6 separate regions of the Homo sapiens genome follow, and all the other regions are linked to region 1. The links are contacts of gene promoters, found by promoter capture Hi-C in blood cells and fetal thymus (Javierre and others, 2016). All regions are on one chromosome and are shown on one strand. The core of a region is centred on a gene start or on the middle of the fragment in contact, and the rest is flanking DNA. Distances in the headings are between cores, read along the strand shown. Region 1 holds the start of PIAS2 (protein inhibitor of activated STAT 2). Region 2 holds the start of ARK2C (arkadia (RNF111) C-terminal like ring finger ubiquitin ligase 2C). Region 3 overlaps ARK2N (arkadia (RNF111) N-terminal like PKA signaling regulator 2N). Region 4 holds the start of HAUS1 (HAUS augmin like complex subunit 1). Region 5 overlaps ARK2N (arkadia (RNF111) N-terminal like PKA signaling regulator 2N). Region 6 overlaps ARK2N (arkadia (RNF111) N-terminal like PKA signaling regulator 2N).

Evidence for each region. Contacts are between HindIII fragments. The CHiCAGO score rates a contact against its expected background, and 5 or more counts as called.
Region 2: a contact is called between the fragment with the promoter of ARK2C here and the fragment with the promoter of PIAS2 in region 1, in 1 of 17 cell types (fetal thymus). The highest score is 7.2, in fetal thymus.
Region 3: a contact is called between a fragment that was not itself captured here and the fragment with the promoter of PIAS2 in region 1, in 1 of 17 cell types (total B cells). The highest score is 7.0, in total B cells.
Region 4: the fragment with the promoter of HAUS1 here is called in contact with the fragment with the promoter of PIAS2 in region 1 in 13 of 17 cell types (non-activated CD4 T cells, total B cells, activated CD4 T cells and 10 more); the score reaches 15.5 in non-activated CD4 T cells.
Region 5: a fragment that was not itself captured here is called in contact with the fragment with the promoter of PIAS2 in region 1 in 1 of 17 cell types (total B cells); the score reaches 5.2 in total B cells.
Region 6: a contact is called between a fragment that was not itself captured here and the fragment with the promoter of PIAS2 in region 1, in 1 of 17 cell types (total B cells). The highest score is 6.1, in total B cells.

Annotation. Positions count from the first base shown.
Region 1 is chr18:46,916,144-46,918,843 of GRCh38, forward strand. PIAS2 (protein inhibitor of activated STAT 2) reads right to left here and starts at 1,364. Exons shown (of 14, transcript NM_004671.5): 1 at 1,179-1,364. The coding sequence starts at 1,202. It overlaps KATNAL2 (katanin catalytic subunit A1 like 2), which reads left to right and starts at 1,459. Exons shown (of 18, transcript NM_001387690.1): 1 at 1,459-1,783. RefSeq lists silencers at 734-813, 884-1,623 and an enhancer at 760-1,513. The HindIII fragment of the contact is 2,459 bases long and covers 1-2,048 here.
Region 2 is chr18:46,332,692-46,335,391 of GRCh38, forward strand. ARK2C (arkadia (RNF111) C-terminal like ring finger ubiquitin ligase 2C) reads left to right here and starts at 1,327. Exons shown (of 8, transcript NM_152470.3): 1 at 1,327-1,644. The coding sequence starts at 1,584. RefSeq lists enhancers at 158-769, 770-1,380. The HindIII fragment of the contact is 2,733 bases long and covers 363-2,700 here.
Region 3 is chr18:46,264,381-46,267,080 of GRCh38, forward strand. It overlaps ARK2N (arkadia (RNF111) N-terminal like PKA signaling regulator 2N), which reads left to right. Exons shown (of 5, transcript NM_145055.5): 5 at 1-2,612. Among named protein-coding and RNA genes, the nearest start is that of ARK2C, 68 kb to the right of the region's middle. The HindIII fragment of the contact is 6,556 bases long and covers 1-2,700 here.
Region 4 is chr18:46,103,003-46,105,702 of GRCh38, forward strand. It overlaps HAUS1 (HAUS augmin like complex subunit 1), which reads left to right and starts at 1,383. Exons shown (of 9, transcript NM_138443.4): 1 at 1,383-1,439; 2 at 2,192-2,366. The coding sequence starts at 1,410. It also overlaps a transcript of ATP5F1A not described here. RefSeq lists a silencer at 1,208-1,307 and an enhancer at 1,698-1,787. The HindIII fragment of the contact is 1,925 bases long and covers 1-1,897 here.
Region 5 is chr18:46,216,846-46,219,545 of GRCh38, forward strand. The region is part of intron 2 of ARK2N (arkadia (RNF111) N-terminal like PKA signaling regulator 2N); the gene reads left to right. Among named protein-coding and RNA genes, the nearest start is that of ARK2N, 44 kb to the left of the region's middle. The HindIII fragment of the contact is 1,440 bases long and covers 707-2,146 here.
Region 6 is chr18:46,197,862-46,200,561 of GRCh38, forward strand. The region is part of intron 1 of ARK2N (arkadia (RNF111) N-terminal like PKA signaling regulator 2N); the gene reads left to right. Among named protein-coding and RNA genes, the nearest start is that of ARK2N, 25 kb to the left of the region's middle. The HindIII fragment of the contact is 1,587 bases long and covers 475-2,061 here.

The sequences.
Region 1 (2,700 bases), core at 114-2,613:
GGCAGGCACTGTGCAAACTCCAACAATCTCCGTTTAGAGCAGAGGATACGTTCTTTTGCTCACGTCCACTAAGCAGGTAACCAGCCAACATCCTTCCCCCATCCCATCTCTTGCGGAAAACAATAAATATACAAAACTGAACCTTTTACCGGATTCCTCTTCCTTATTTGAAAAAGAAATCCTAATATCATAAGTGTTACACAAACGAGTTGCAGTAAATGTAATTTCAAGTTTACACTCATCTCTACCTTGATACATTTAAAAAAAAAAAAAATCAGGGTTTCTGTCCGTAAACATCTCATTTATGTCGCCAGTAATTCAGCGATACACACAAATCCATCTCATTCGTCACACTTAGTTAGGACTTTAAAGGTTATCAGTCTGGGGGGAAAAAGTCTCTTCTGTTCTACCCCCATCACAGCCCTATTCCAGACCTCTGCTATACAAGGGTATCAACAATAAAGTTATGATCTTGTTTTAAGACTGAGAAGAAAAAAATATTTTTCCTCAAGAGTAAAAGGGGTGCACAAACCTCACAACATAGACTTTGCAGATTTCTTACTAAAACACTAAGAAAATATCGAGGTTTAAGGCCGATTATTGAAGGCAGGGATCCCCAAACATTAGGTTCCTCGAAGATGTTAGGAGGCAAGGGTGGGAGAAGGGGCCTTTTCTCGTGACAGACCTGACTAAACGGTAGCATCAGCCATAAGAAGAGGAGAGATTCCTAAACGCAACTTCAGCTTTCAGAAAACAGTCCTCCACCAAGTGAGTAGCATGCAGACTTGTGAATAGCCACAGACACGTACACCCCGGTGAAGGTGCAAGATCAAACGTTGCTTCCCACATCGGCCCTCACTGCGAACCGGGATGTCGGGTCCCCATGTGCCCCTCCTGGAGGGCGCCCCGACCCCCCGCGCCAGGTGTGCGGACCACTGGCAGCACTCAGGAGCCGGCTCGCCGCGGCCCAGGCCCGCCGCCCCCGCGCCGCCCGCGTGCCCTCCGCCGGCCCGCTCCCCTCCCCCGCGCCCTCGGCGCCCGTTCGTCCGCGGGCCGGGGCTCAGGGCTCCGCCAACCGGCCCCAGAGGCACGAGCAGGCGGCGGCCGGCGACGTTGCGGTTTCCCCACCTCCTCTCCCATCCCCTCCCCCGCGGCCTCCGCTCTCCACTCCCGCTTACCCTCAACTCTTCGAAATCCGCCATTTTATACCACCCGCGGGCGCCGCCGCCGCTGCCGCCGCACCCACTCCCGCTGCCGCCAACGACGCTGCCGCCACCACGGCCGCCGCCGCCTCCAGCACCATCCTGCACTGGGCGCCGCTTAAGACGCCGCGGCCGCCGCCGCTACAGCCGGGCCCGTCACGTGAACGGCGCGGGAGCTCCGCCTCCGACGCGCCGAAGCCCCGCCCCTAGCGGTGCCCCCTGCCCACCCGCGCGACCGCCTTCCGCCCGCGCCTTCAGTCCGCGCGGCGACAGCGCCCGCCCGCGCCTGCCCCGGCGTGCTGCCCCGCGGCTTGGCCCCGCTCGGCCCCAGGTCGTGCCTTCCCTCCCCGGCGGAGGCCCCTGCGGACTGCCTAGAGCTGGGTCGCAACTGAGGCGTTATCCGCGGGCCTGGCCTCGGGAAGTGGCGGGGAGGAAGAAGAGGCGGCCGGGACGCGTGACAGGAGCATTCGGGAAGATTCTTACGGTGCCCTTCACGCGGTGCCTATGGACGGAGAAAGCCGCCGCAAATAAAACCATCCCCCAGAGTAGTTGTGGCGGAATAATCTAAATATGGGTGTTGGGTAAGCTATTGTTCCCATCTAATGGTGAGGTTGTGTGACACCTCTTTGAATTGCTAATGTCCTGCAAGTACCAACCTTGCCGAGTTTTTCTGACCTTGAAGGGCACCTGAAGGTCACGGACTGCAGAGTTGGGAGAGTTAGGCGGTGGGGTTGGGGGCGGGGAGAAGTGAAATAAGAGCGCTCAGAAGGGCCATGCTAAAAAGTCGGGGAAATCTGATAGCTAGGAAGGAGTCAAACGCCAAGGCAGAGTAAGTAGATAGAAGGAAGCTTGATGGCCCCCCCGTAATGTGCTGATATAGGATGAAGGAAGATGCTGAGTCAAGATGGCCAGAAAAATCGCTGGACGGTGTCCAGGGTTCAATTTCCTTGAAGAATTGGGTGGAACCCACACACGAGAGGTCTTTAAAACAATGTAACTTTTAAGGCCCTGTTTAATCAGCCTCCTACCTACCGCCTCTTCCCACTACCCCTCGTTTCATCCGCACTGCACTTCCAGGTCTTCCTTCCACTCCCCTGCCCCCGCACCCCGCAAGTTTTGTTTTTTTGAGACGGAGTTTTGCTCTTGTTGCCCAGGCTGGAGTGCAATGGCACGATCTCGGCTCACCGCAATGTCTGCCTCCCGGGTTCAAGCGATTCTCCTACCTCCGCCTCCCGAGTAGCTGCGATTGTATTTTTGGTAGAAACGAGGTTTCTCCAAGTTGGTCAGGCTGGTCTCCAACTCCGGACCTCAGGTGATCCGCCCGCCTCGGCCTCCCAAAGTACTGAGATTACAGGCGTGAGCCACTGCACCCGGCCTCCCCTCAAGTTTTAAGGCTTCTAAATGTTGATCCTTGAACCAAGAATAATTTCCCACTCTCTTCTTTGTTCCTAACTCCTGTTCATCCTTCAGGTTTCACTTTAAGTGTCACTTCCTCAGG
Region 2 (2,700 bases), core at 77-2,576, 580 kb before region 1:
AGATCGGGATCACCTCCCTATGCCCTTGCTCAACACAGCATGGATTAAATGAATGACCCTCCTTTTCCAAGGTGAGGGCAGGTTGGGGTTGGATTAGATTCTTTCCAGCTCCACATACTGTGATTTTTACCATCTCCTATTTATCAGACTCATTAAAGAAAGAAACCACTGGGCTTTGAAGACAAGTCCCAATGTAGGGAATGTCCTCTGTCTTTCTGCCCGTGGGTGGGCCCCTGAAGCATTCTCTGGCCTTAGTGTGTGAACTGTGAGCCTGATTGTAGGCGTAGGGTTGCCTTGGGAGTTTTCACAGAAGGTCAGCTGAGCATGCAAGAACACCGCCTCAGTCGTCCTCCTGGCAACAAAGCTTGCGGTGAAGGCTCTTTGATTGGGTCTTGCTTGTCCCCAGCTGGACTGTCACAGGGCACATGTGACACGGTGGCTGCGCCTCCACGTGTGAATTTGCAGGAGCCTCAGAGCCTGATGTTACATATCCGCCTGCTGGCTGTGGAAGTGGGCGTGTCTGTGCACATGGCTGGGTGTACCTGTCTCAGATCAGGGCAAAAGGTAGATGAGTGGCCCTGGGTTTTCTGGGCAGTGTGTCTCTGTGTAGACTGTTGGCAAAGACCTCAGTGAATGAGTGAATTTCAATTCAGCAAATAATTATTGTGAGCTTTGTGCTCTCCAAGAGCAACGACGCGGTGCGCCAGGCAGAGAGCCTGGGGAGTGTGCGTGTCTTACCTGTGTCTGCATCGTGTGTTCCCTCTGTGTGTCTCTGAGAATGCGTTCTTGGCACGCGTCCTGCGTTAACAAGGCGTTTGGTGTGTGCATGTCTGTGTGACAGTGCCTGGGTCCTGTTTGCGGCTGCTTGTTCGCATTCCAGCTTCCCTTGTGCCCGCAGTCAGGCTCTACACGTGCGCCAGCCTCCGAGCGCACGTCCCCGAGTGACCCGTGCGCGGTGTGCAGGGACCTCAGGGTCGTGTGCACTAAGGGCGCTCGTGCCCGTCTCTCTGCACTAAGGAACGCACCTCCACATGTCTGAGTGCACGTCCCTCTCCATGTGTGCACGTTCCGTGTTCACGCCGCCCATGTCTGTGCAGGGGCGCTTCACGCGCGCCCTCTCCGGCCCGCGGGCGGCCAGGGACCCGCGCTGGGCTCCACGCTTCCCGTGGGGCTGACCCCTCCCTCGCGCCCCGCAGCGGGCCGCAGCGATTGGCCGCCGGCCCCCTTCCAGCCGTCACCCCTCCCTCCCTCCGCCACCCGCGCGCCCGCGGTCCCCGCTGTCCCCCGCGGTTCCGGCGAGGCCGCGCCGCGCTGCGCTCCGCTCCCATTGGCTGCGCGCGCCTTTGTGTGGCGGCAGCTGCGGCCCCAGCGCCTTTGAATGTCGAGAGGGGCCGGGAAGGGAGCCTTTCCATGGGCCATCTGTCTCCCCGCCAGCCGCCGCCCCACCGCCGCCCGCGCCCCGCGCTCCGCCTCCCGCCCCGGCGGCTCCCGCAGCCCCGCCGCCGCCCGCGCCCGCGCCCCGGAGCCGCGCCACAAAGGGCCCGCGCGCAGCCGCCGCCGCCGCCGCCGCGCGAGGAGCCAGGATGGTCCTGGTCCACGTCGGCTATCTCGTGCTTCCAGTGTTTGGCTCTGTGCGAAACAGAGGTATCGCTTTTTCCTTTCGGGGTCTGCTTCGGAGCGTGGATCGCCGCAGGCACCGGGGCGGGGGCGGGCGCCGCGGGCGGCCGGGGGCTCAGGGCACACCCGCGAGGACGCAGGGCGAGCGGTGGCTTCCCCCCACCCCATTTTAGGGGGACCCCCGAGGGTGGGGGCGGCCGCCCTCGTGGGAGCTTTTGTAGTGAAGTTAGGGTTTGGCGAATTTGGGTCCCTTCCTCCCCAGCCCCATTTTTTATTTTTTGCGGCGGACGTGGTTCCCCCAAATCACAGCCCCTTCCCCTAATACCTAGCCCTGTATGATCGAAAGGAGAAAGATACATGACCGTGTGTGTGTGTGTGTGTGTGTGTGTGTGTGTGTGTGTGTGTGTGAGAGAGAGAGAGAGCGCGCGCGCGAGAGCATGCTTGGTTTTCTGTGGTTTGCTTTTTTTGAGGTATATGTGTGTTTTGTGTTATGTGTGTTTTGTATTCATTTTTTGTTCATTAGTACCGATGGCTGGCTAGCTGGGACCTGGGTCTCTGCCCTATCCCATGCCCCAGCCCCCACCCTCTCGTGGGCACTTGCACGATTTTCCATCCCATCCTTTTTTCGTCTTTAACCCTTTTTGTGCATCGCCCTTGTGCTATTGCCCTGCTCACCCCGCCCCCCGCAACTGTCTTTGTATGACAGTTGCATACACGGGTTCAAGATGCTTGGGCGCGTGTGTGTGTGTGTGTGTGTGTCTGTATGTGTGTGTGCATGTGTGCGAGTGTGCGCGCGCGCCTCGGAGAGTCAGACCTGCGCTGCTGTGCCCTCCTTGGGTCCGGCTGGAGCGGGGCGTCCGGCCCTTGGGTGTTGTGCTGTGTGTGAGGATGAGGTGGGAAGCTGCCCCCACGCCAGGCCTTTGCCCCGGGCAGCGGTTGACAAAGCAGCGGGCCGGCGCGGGCTTTGTTTTTAACTGTGATAAATGGGGTGTGTTTGCACGGTCCCCTTTCCCCACATCCCCTCTCCCTCACATTCTGCTACAACAATAGCTTGATTTTCCCCTCTTCTCCCCACCTCCACTC
Region 3 (2,700 bases), core at 151-2,650, 650 kb before region 1:
TCTGCACAGGGGGAGTGAAGTAATATTGGCTTAGAAGACTTCACCTTTTGTTTTTCATGGTTTTTGTTTGTTTTGTTTTTGTTTTTGTTTCCATTGTTACCGTTGCTATGGCCCTTTGCCTGTCTCTCCAAATCCCCTGGTGGCTCTTCTTATCATTAAGAGTATGAGAATTACCATTTTCAGTTTTCATTCAGCAAACAAATTTACCAAGTGCCTGCTCTGCATAAGGCACTGTGAGGGGTGGGTGCTCTGGGGGCTGCTGAGATGAATGACACACACCGCACATACACATGCATCAGTGTCTGCCTGCCTCCACCTGCCCAGCCTGTTCTTCTTCTTCTTCTTCATCTTCTTCTTTTTTTTTTTTTTTTGTAAAGACAAGTTTATTCCTTTACGCTTCTTGTTGCATTAGTTCTCCTGTATGTTCCTTCTTCCACAGGAATGTATTTGTGCATATGTTCTTTGATCTTCTCTGATAGCATCTCATTTGATCTGGCCTCTGTCCTTCATCAGCTTTTATTTTTTTTATTTTTATTTTCTGCTTTTGTTAGATAAGGCTTTTAAGATCATGAACCTCCAGCTTTAGCAACTCATATATCAGTCTCTCACATGGCCACAATTCTAGACAAAAACCAAAGACCCAGAGGCCAGAGCAAAGTAGGACCTTCTGAAGATTCACTACTGGTGTATCCTTGGACCTTCACATTTTACTTTAGGATTAATTTATTGAATTTTACTGTTACACATAGTTTTTGACTTGAATTAAAATACTAGACAAAGCAGAAATGTACAATTTCTGGTCTGTGTTTTCCAGGAAATTCATAGAGAAGAGAATAGAGTGGATGATGTGACTTGAAGTTTTTGCAGCTTATTTTTTCCCCCACTGTCAGGGCAGAGGCCCATTTTAATGAATGTTTTTGCATGACCTGTTCTTATGTTAACCACATATTTTTTTTCCCAATTCCACACAGCAGGTGATTTCCCGTGTGACATATTTTCTTCATAGTCCCTAATATAGTCATCCTCTACAGAGTTGGCGTGCTGTGTGCACTGTGGATTAGGAACAGAGTGGAGCTGTAACCAGTCTCTTCTCTGGCCCTTTGCCTTTATGTCAGCTTGCACTTTTGCCTCACTTATTCCTAGTCCAGCTCCCAACTGCCTGACTTAATGGACCAGAACGGAGATTTGGATATTAAGATGCAGAGGGGGAGGGGAAGGGATGGTAGAGATAGACAGCTCTCCCCTACTAGGTTGGGTCATTTCCCCTAATAACTATAGAGAGACTGTGTTTCAACTCTCTTTTCATTGCTGTTTCCAGAAGAGTGGAGAGTGTGGTTTCAGGCAAGGTATTAATGATACAATTCCGTGGTATACAGCTCCTGTGACATTTGAAGTTTCTTTTAAAGGGGTTTTTCTTAATCAAAGTTTTACATTTGGTAGCATAAGTAGTTCTTTATGCTTCACAGGACATTGTCTTCAGAGTAATCTCTCTGCTAAAATGGTACATGTGGGTCACAGATTGGTTTATGCCACTGACTTGGTTAAGTTTCCACCCCCTCCAATTTGTGAAAAACAGAGCAGTGACCTAGCTGTTGCATCATCATGACTGCCATGTAACCTGTAATTGCTGCTCTCCAGTAATTGTCTTTTCATTTTGATGGTAGGGGCCAGACTGAATGAATAATGCATTCTTTTTTATTCAATTTATTTCATTCAGTTTATTCTTGGCAATCAAACATCCCATAAACTTTGCTTTTATTATCAATTATGAATATGAATTGTCTGGTTTACTAATGTAGTCATTTGTTCATCTTTACTTTTAGCAGATTAGCACCATAACTAACTTAAAACTAAGTTTGTTACCTGCTTTTTATACTGTCACAAAGGTTTTTGAAAAAGCTGGGGACACTATTTTGTCTTTTAGTTTTAAACTTTTTTAAGGCAAAGCAAGCTCCCCAATCCCTGTTCTCCAATATGTGTATGATGTGACTTCCATGTAGATATAAAAATGATTGTGCCCTAACCAAACTTCCTCAGATTGTGCACTGTTTGTTTAAAATAATCACGTATTTTAGTCTGATGCTGTTGTATTTTTTCATTTTATTTAAAACACTACTTACTTCTTATTCTCTTAACAAATTTTAAAAGGTAGTGATCTTAAAAAAAAATCACTGGATAACTAGGAAATATTTTTGTTGTTGTTTTGTTTCTTAAAGAGTACAGAGGCCATTGAAGCCTTTTGCTCCTCTTACCGTGAAAATGAAATGTTAGCCATTGTATGGCTAGGAACCAATGCACTTGGCAGTTAATGGATCTGCTGTTGCTGGAGTGTGAGCGTGGACTTGATGCAGTGATGACAAATCATTGCTTAGAATTAATGTTTTCAAATGTGCAACTCTAGTTTTTAAAACAAAATTTGGTTCTTTACATTCATTATTTCGTTTTTGTTTCCCTTTAGTATTTAATGGTCTTTGGAGAAAAAATAATAAAACAGAGTGTTATATATATATTTTTTGGTGCAAGATAAGATTTTCTGTTTTTTGAAATAAGTCTGTAGCATAAAGGTTAAACTATTTTAAGACAAAATAAAATAGAGTGTATTTAAACAATGATATCTTCTGAGGTTTTTTTTTTTTTTTCTTTGTCCCTATCTGCTTCAGTTAATTAGGTGGTACCTGGAGCAATTTCCAAGTTACCTTT
Region 4 (2,700 bases), core at 133-2,632, 810 kb before region 1:
AAAAGAAAATCATTTTAGGCTGGGTGTGTTGGCTCACACCTGTAATCCTAGCTCTTTGAGAGGCCGAGGCAGGCAGATCACTTGAGGTCAGGAGTTTGAGACCAGCCTGATCAACGTGGTGAAACCCCCCGTTCTACTAAAAATAAAAAAATTATCCCTGCATGCTAGCACAAGCCTGTAATCCCAGCTACTAGAGAGGATGAGACAGGAGAATTGCTTGAGCCTGGGGACGGGGGTTGGAGGTCGCAGTGAGCCAAGATCATGTCACTCTGCACTCCAGCCTAAGCGACAGAGAAACACTCCATCTCAAAAAGAAAAGAAAAGGTCGGGCGCAGTGCCTGTAATCCCAGCACTTTGGGAGGCCAAGGCGGGCGGATCACCTGAAGTCAGGAGTTCGAGACCAAGCTGGCCAACCTGATGAGATCCCATCTTTACTAAGATACAAAAAATTAGCTGGGCGTGGTGATGCACACCTGTAATCCCAGCTACTCGGAAGGCTGAGGCAGGAGAATCGCTTGAACCCGGGAAGCAGAGGTGGCAGTGAGCTGAGAGCCGAGAGCCGAGATCGTGCCACTGCCCTCCAGCCTGAACAACAGAGACTCCATCTCAAAAAAAAAAAAAAAAAAAAAAAAGCTGGGCGCGCTGGCTCACGCCTGTAATCCCAGCACTTTGGGAGGCCGAGGTGGGCGGATCATGAGGTTAGGAGTTCGAGACCAGCCTGGCCAATATGGTGAAACCCCGTCTCTACTAAAAACACAAAAATTAGCCAGGCGTGGTGGCGCTTGCCCGTAGTCCCAGCTACTTGGGAGGCTGAGACAGAAGAATCGCTTGAACCCAGGAGGCAGAGGTTGCAGTGAGCCGAGATCATGCCACTGCACTCCAGCCTGGGCGACAAAGCGAGACTCTGTCTCAAAAAAAAAAAATGTCCCTAGTTTTTAGGTTGGGGGAACTAACGGATCAAGTTAAGATTGCCTCAGCTCATATTGCCAGGGTAGAATATAAATTCTGAGTGGATGCAATCAATGTGGAAGAAACACAAACATCTTGCTAAGCAAGAACCAAACGTTTCAAGTACTTTTTTTTAACGACAAGTGATTCAAACAAGAAATAAAAATAAAAGAAAGAAAAAACAACCTGGTTCTAGGCGGCTCTATCTCTCGTAGTGTTGATTATACCGCGGAAGGCGGGAAGAGCTGGGAAGTGGCAACGAAGCGAGGCTTGCAATGCCAGAGCCTTCGACCAGCCTTGCACAGGGGCTCAACGGCCAGGAGTCTCAGGTAAAACCACAACTCCCAGAAATCCCGGGCCCGGCGAGGGGCGGGTGCCAACGGCGTGTGGGCGGGGCCTAGGGAGTGAGCGGGGCGCATCTCCCGCTAGGAGTTCCTAGTAAAGTGGCGGGAGCCGCAGCTATGGAGCCGCAGGAGGAGAGAGAAACGCAGGTGATGGGGCGGGAATGGGGATCGTTGGCCTCCTGGAAAACGCGTTTTTGACACCCCCGCGCCGACAGCGGGTCTCCTGTGCGCGCCACGTCTACTTTTCTCTCCCCTATTCCACACATCCGTCTTTTAGTGCCGCCGTCACTATCTGCAAGCCCCCCGTGCTTAGACTCTCCTGAAGGCCTTTCCCTTCCTGCCCGGGCCTCCCCTTGTTTGGATCTGGCCCGGGAGAGGCGTTGAGCAGCCCGTGTCCACAGACTCTGGAGTGGGACTTATGAAGCCAAACCCGCCTTCCGGTTCGCTGCTCAGCCCGGCGGCTTCCACATCTGAACTGCTTCCGCGCCCTGCATCCCAACACTGGGAGCCTCCCGGCGCGGCGGGGCTTCTGGTGATCGAGGGACAATTGCTTTTTTCAGACCATGCACGGTCTAATAATGCGTTCGCATTATTATGGTCTATTAAGCTTTAAGGTTTTTCAAGCGAGGCAAATTGTTAGCCTGTACCGCTTTTGCAGATTTGGAAAAGAACGGATTGTTCTCTGGTAATTTTCAGTATTGTACGTTTCTTTGTGTACTTGCTCACTTTTTATTTCCTGATATCTAGTATCTCCCTAAAGACAAGTGAGGTTGTGAAGTAGGACTCCAAAATAGTCACAGAAAGCATTTAGTTTGCTTTTGATCACTTCTTTGTCATATTCTCATCGAGCCATTACAGTAAACAAGGCTTATAATATTTGTCTTTCTTTTAATGGTTAGGTTGCTGCGTGGTTAAAAAAAATATTTGGAGATCATCCTATTCCACAGTATGAGGTGAACCCACGGACCACAGAGATTTTACATCACCTTTCAGAACGCAACAGGGTCCGGGACAGGGATGTCTACCTGGTAATAGAGGACTTGAAGCAGAAAGCAAGTGAATACGAGTCAGAAGGTGAGATTAAGTCCAGAGTTTTGAACGAGAATAAATAGAGGTAACCAAATTTTATAACACTAAAGTATACAGGATTAATTTACTGTAGACTACTTGTTTTGCTCCTTTATTTTTCCCAGATTTTCTTCCACTCTGTTATAGTAGTAACTTTATTGTTTTATGTTTATATATATGTATATGTATGTGTGTGTGTGTGTGTGTGTGTGTGTGTGTGTGTGTGTGTGTATATATTTTAGACAATCTTGCTCTGTCGCCCAGGCTGGAGTGCAGTGGTGTGATCTCAGCTCACTGCAACCTCCATCTCCTGGGTTCAAGTGATTCTCATGCCTCAGCC
Region 5 (2,700 bases), core at 177-2,676, 700 kb before region 1:
GAATTTCTCATAAGTCTGTCTGTAACACATTACCTGAACTCCCAATCATTGCCTTTTTGGCACTGCTTAGATTTAATACTCACTGTTCGGCATCATTACTGAGTACATTCTCCTCAGGAATAGGCACCTTGCTTTATTATATAGCCACTGCACTTGAGCTTATAGTGTCTGAAATAACACATTCTATCTTTTGTTAAAGTTTTCTAATAATTTTTCCTCCAAAAACAGTAGTTTTATGTGTTTCCCCCATATTCAATGCATGAGAAGCTAGTTATCCTTGTTACAAATCTTTCTATCCTCACGTTGAAAAGAATGTCTTTCTGAAAAATTTCCCATTAGTTCCCCAAGTTTTAAAAAAGTTTGTTAGAAATCCGCTTGTTCTAGCTCTCATTGGTATAAGGGTCTGTAACTTATTACATATTTGGTAAATCTGCTTTCCCCATTCTTATTGCATCTGGTACTGTGTACTATAATACAAAGGCAGTCTTGAGATTTCATAGTGGAAGAAAGATGTATCTGAATGGTTCTTAAGTAGTGAATTCTTATTATCCAAGAGATCCTTACAATATGATCAGGAACATTTTGTAAACTGTATGGCATTGAATAGGTCATGGCAGTATTGTTTATTGCCACATTGAAGAGGGGCAAGTTTGGGTTTTCTAAAGTTTTATGGGTGACTATGTTTTTTCTCTCCCTGTTTTCTGAAAGCTTTCTGTTTCTACATGTGAAGACAGCATATTGCTGATATACAAAGAACATTTCAAGAGAAATCATATTGGTTAATGGAATCTATAGCTTCCCAAACTTATATAAATTCAGTAACAAGAATGATTGGTTTTAAAGCACTTTATAGGTGTTCAAGTTCTGATAATAAGTCTTGTCCATATAATATAAATATGAGTCTCAAACGATCTTTAGAAATGCTTTTTACTGTTTTAATATCTCTATTGGATTCCTTTGCTATTGTTCCTTGTAATAAAACTACCGGGAGGGGGATTTCAATGAAGCTCATCAGTTAAATGTATGAGAGAAACAGACTTTGGGGTTGTTCTAAGGCAGGTTTTAGGTATATATTTTAGTTTTACATGTATTAATATTTTTAAAAAAACCTTATTAATACCTGTAAAATTGTGCATTCCTATATCCTCTTCTAACCTCTTAATCAAGACCTTGATGGAACTCTTAATACAATACTTACTTCCACTTACTAAGCAGGATTTTATGTAACTACCCCAATACTTTGCCTTTTTGTGGAAAGGAAGAAGGTGGGTAAACAAAATTTAAAGTCAGAACCCTATTGTAAGGTGGCTTGAGAAATGTCTTCATAGGCACTTTCCCTGTTTTGCTTAAATAGGTTAGATGTGCTTTGTTCATATTTTCCTAATCTTCTTTCTAATTGAGTATCTTGACCACTGCTTAAAACTTAAAACACCAGTGTCTGTTTCTTGTCTCTTCTGAATTGTGTACTAACTGAACACCAAAGTAAATTAATTTGAATCTATAGTTTGGTTTCTATTGTTCACACCATTTAGTAACTTTGTGGCTTTTGAAAATACACATAGTTTTCTAAGGTAATCCTGGAGAATCAAATGGTAGATTGAGGTACAGGGTCACTGTATGTGACTGCCTGTGTGTGTGCTGGCAGTTTTGGGAGGTCTTATGGTATACCTGCCATTCCCATAAGACAGGTATGAATGATCTTTACTGGAATTATGCAAAGCAGCAAAAATGGAACAACTTAGAGTTCAAATATTAGGAATTTCATTTCAATTGTCCATATTGTTGTCTCTTGAAAAATTGTGACATTGTGAATTTTTAATGTAACAGTGATGTATCTTTCAGTTTACTGAGTCACCTTATGACTTTGGGGAAGAGAGGAGGCACGTTCAACCTTATAGTAAGAGCAGTTGTCGAAAAGTTGCCTAAATTGTAAAGGTAGGATAAATTATGAACTGACTTGAGTTCAACAACATGGACATTCAGGTGAACTTAAGCTGGATGGGCCTAACAGAATCTCTTGGATGTCGGAATGTTAATTCAGCTGTTTACACAGAATGGAAACCAAGTGGAAAAGTAAAAACCGATTATTGCCATACTCTTTCATTAAGGTACAACCAATTTAGTAATTCAGAAAATGCTCTTTATAAGCTTTTGTTTGGGCTCAGCTTAAAAGTTGAAGGCATTATCCTAAATAATTCCTGTTAGGATATCCTAATACCTTAATCCTAAATGTTATGCCAAATAATTGTAACTGTTAATGCATATTCTTTTAGAGAGTGCAAATAATTAATAATGCAGACCAGTGTAGTGCATGATCATACTTTAATTGAGTTTGATATCTGGGCAACAGATGTTTATGACGATTTTTTAAAGTTAGCAGTTAACTGACAGGCAGCTTAGTATCGGCACTAGATCATCTCTCTTTGAAGTTTTTGGAAATATATTGATGTTTTAAGAATCTGTTTGGAGGTATCATATCAAAATAATGCTGGCAGTACTTTCATTTGGCAGACTTAGAGTTGAGTAAAGGGCATTTTATAGTAAATTTATAATATTTTATAGTGAATTCATGTAAAAGTACTATGTGATGGTTATCTTGAGTATCAAGGCTTTTTATCAAGTGATTTCTTTTTTTTTTTTTTTGAGACCGAGTCTTGCTCTGTCACCAGGCTGGAGTGCAGTGGCGCGATCTCTGCTCAC
Region 6 (2,700 bases), core at 18-2,517, 720 kb before region 1:
ACCTCTTTTATATTTTCCATCTCATATTTTTTGTATGCCGTTATGGGTATTTTCTTCAAATCTGTCTTTTAGTTTGCTAGTTTTCTTTTTAGCTGTGTGTAATCTGTTACTTAACCTGCCCAGTTTTTCCTACGATATTTCCATTTTTGAAAATTGTGGGCCAGGTGTGGTGGCTCACGCCTATAATCCCAGCACTGTGGGAGGCTGAGGTGGCTGGATCACTTGAGGTCGGGAGTTCAAAACCGGCCTCACCAACATGGTGAAACACTGTCTCTACTAAAAATACAAAAGTTAGCCGGGTATGGTGGTGGCGCCTGTAGTCCCAGCTACCTGGGAAGCTGAGGCACGAGAATCACAGAATCACTTGAACCCGGGAGGTGGAGGTTGCAGTGAGCCGAGATCGCCCCCACTGCACTCCAGTATGGATGACTGAACCAGACTCCATCTCCAAAAAAAAAAAAAAAAAAAAAAAGAAGCTTGACTCTTTTTTAAATTTAATTTTTAATAGTTACATTGTAATGCAGTTTTGAAAGATTTTTACATTGGTCCATAAAACGAAGAACTATGAGACAATATTATAAAAAGTTCATTCTCCCATTTTGATTCTCTACCTTTCACCTTCCTACTTTTCACAAGTAAGAATTACTAATTTCTTGTTTCCTTATAGATTTTTAAAATACGCAAATGTAGGTAGATTTTCTTCCCTCATGTTTTATACAAATACCATATTGTACCCACTTGTCTTTTTTCTTTTTTGAGATGGAGTTTTGGTCTGTTGTCCAGGCTGGAGTGCAGTGGTGCATCTCGGCTCACTGCAACCTCCACCTCCCGGGTTCAAGTGATTCTCCTGCCTCAGCCTCCCAAGTAGCTGGGACTACAGGCGTGCACCATCACACCTGGCTAATTTTTGTATTTTAAGTAGAGATGGGGTTTCACTATGTTGGCCAGGTTGGTCTCGAACTCCTGACCTTGTGATCCACCTGCCTCGGCCTCCCAAAGTGCTGGGATTACGGATGTGAGCCACTGTGCCCAGCCTTTTTCCTTCTTAAAAATGGACCCTGGAGATCATTTCTAATATAGAAAAGAGTTCCTCATTCATAGTCCTTTTGTAGCTTAGTTTTGTCATGATAATCATAAACCTACATCTATAGTCCAGCTAGAATTGGAAGATGAGATGGGAAATATGGAACCCATAGAATTACAGCAAATGAGCACGCAAAGATTATGGATTTTAAAGCAGTCTGGGAGTAAATGAGATAAAACAAAATTAAATTTGAAACTTGCCCTCAGTCAATATTTAAGACCTTCTTGCTTGTTTTGCACCTCTATCTTAACTTTCACAGTATTCATGCCATCTTTTACCTTTCCATGGTGGGCTTATATGTTATTTCAGGCTGAACTACATTTCCTAGAAACTCCTTTCCTGTATCTTTCTTTTTAATTTTTAAAAATTATTTTATTTTATTTTTTTGAGATGGAATCTCTCGCTGTTGCCCAGGCTGGAGTGCAGTGGAGTGATCTCGGCTCAGTGCAACCTCTGTCTCCTGGCTTCAAGCGATTCTTCCTGCCTCAGTCTCCTGAGTAGCTGGAACTACAAGTGTGTGCCACCACACCCAGCTCATTTTTTTTTTTTTTTTTTTTTTTTAGTAGAGGTGGGGTTTCACCATGTTGGCCAGGCTGGTCTTGAACTCCTGACCTCAAGTGATCCACCCGCCTCAGCCTCCCAAAATGCTGTGATTACACTTTCCTGTGTCTTTCTTGTAAGGTTGGGCACAAGAGAGATTACTGTAGGAGATTTGGAGAGTGGCCATTTTGTTGTTTACATACATTGTTGCTTATCTGTTGAGTCACCTCACTTCTTTGTAGTGAAGCAGCTTATGGGACTGCAACTGTTTAACTCTCCCCTAGATCTCCTTCCCAATCTTCTTCAGCTCTGCTGACTCCTGGGCCAGGTATATGTTTAGCTGTTTGACAAAGAGGTTTGGTTCTATAGGACATCTATACCATCAAGGTTAGAGGCAACAAGAACTAATACAGAGTTCAGTTTGTCCTGTGGACTTAAGCTTGTGTGTGTGATTTCTAGCTCGTTGTTTCTTGCTCTCTCCTACTTGTTCTCTGCCACATCCATCTTTCTGTCTCACCTGCGGCCCTGTGGATTTTAAGCGCCAGCATCAGATGCAGATAGCCTTACAGAAAATTCTTTATTGTGTGTGTGTGTGTGTGTGTGTGTGCGCGCGCGTGCTGGGGGCAGAGGGTGTATTTTTAAGACCTGGTGGTTCTGTTTCTCTGACCAAACCTGAATTATTCATTTTTCCGAAAGACCACATTTGCTATCTATCTAATCAATCAATTTTATCAGTTTATGGAAACTGGGAGTCATTTATACTGAGTTCAGGATTTGCCAGGGACAAGATGTCAGATGTCACAGGTTACAGTTTTTTTGTTTGTTCGTTTGTTTTTTTTTAAGACAGAGTCTTGCTCTGTCACCCAGGCTGGAGCGCAGTGGCGCAATCTTGGCTCACTGCAACCTCTGCCTTCCGGGTTCAAGCGATTCTCCTGCCTCAGCCTCCTCAGTAGCTGGGATTACAGGCACGTGCCACCACGCCCAGCTAATTTTTGTGTTTTTAGTAGAAATGGGGTTTCACTATGTTGGCCAGGCTGGGCTCAAACTCCTGACCTCATGATCCGCCCGCCTCAGCC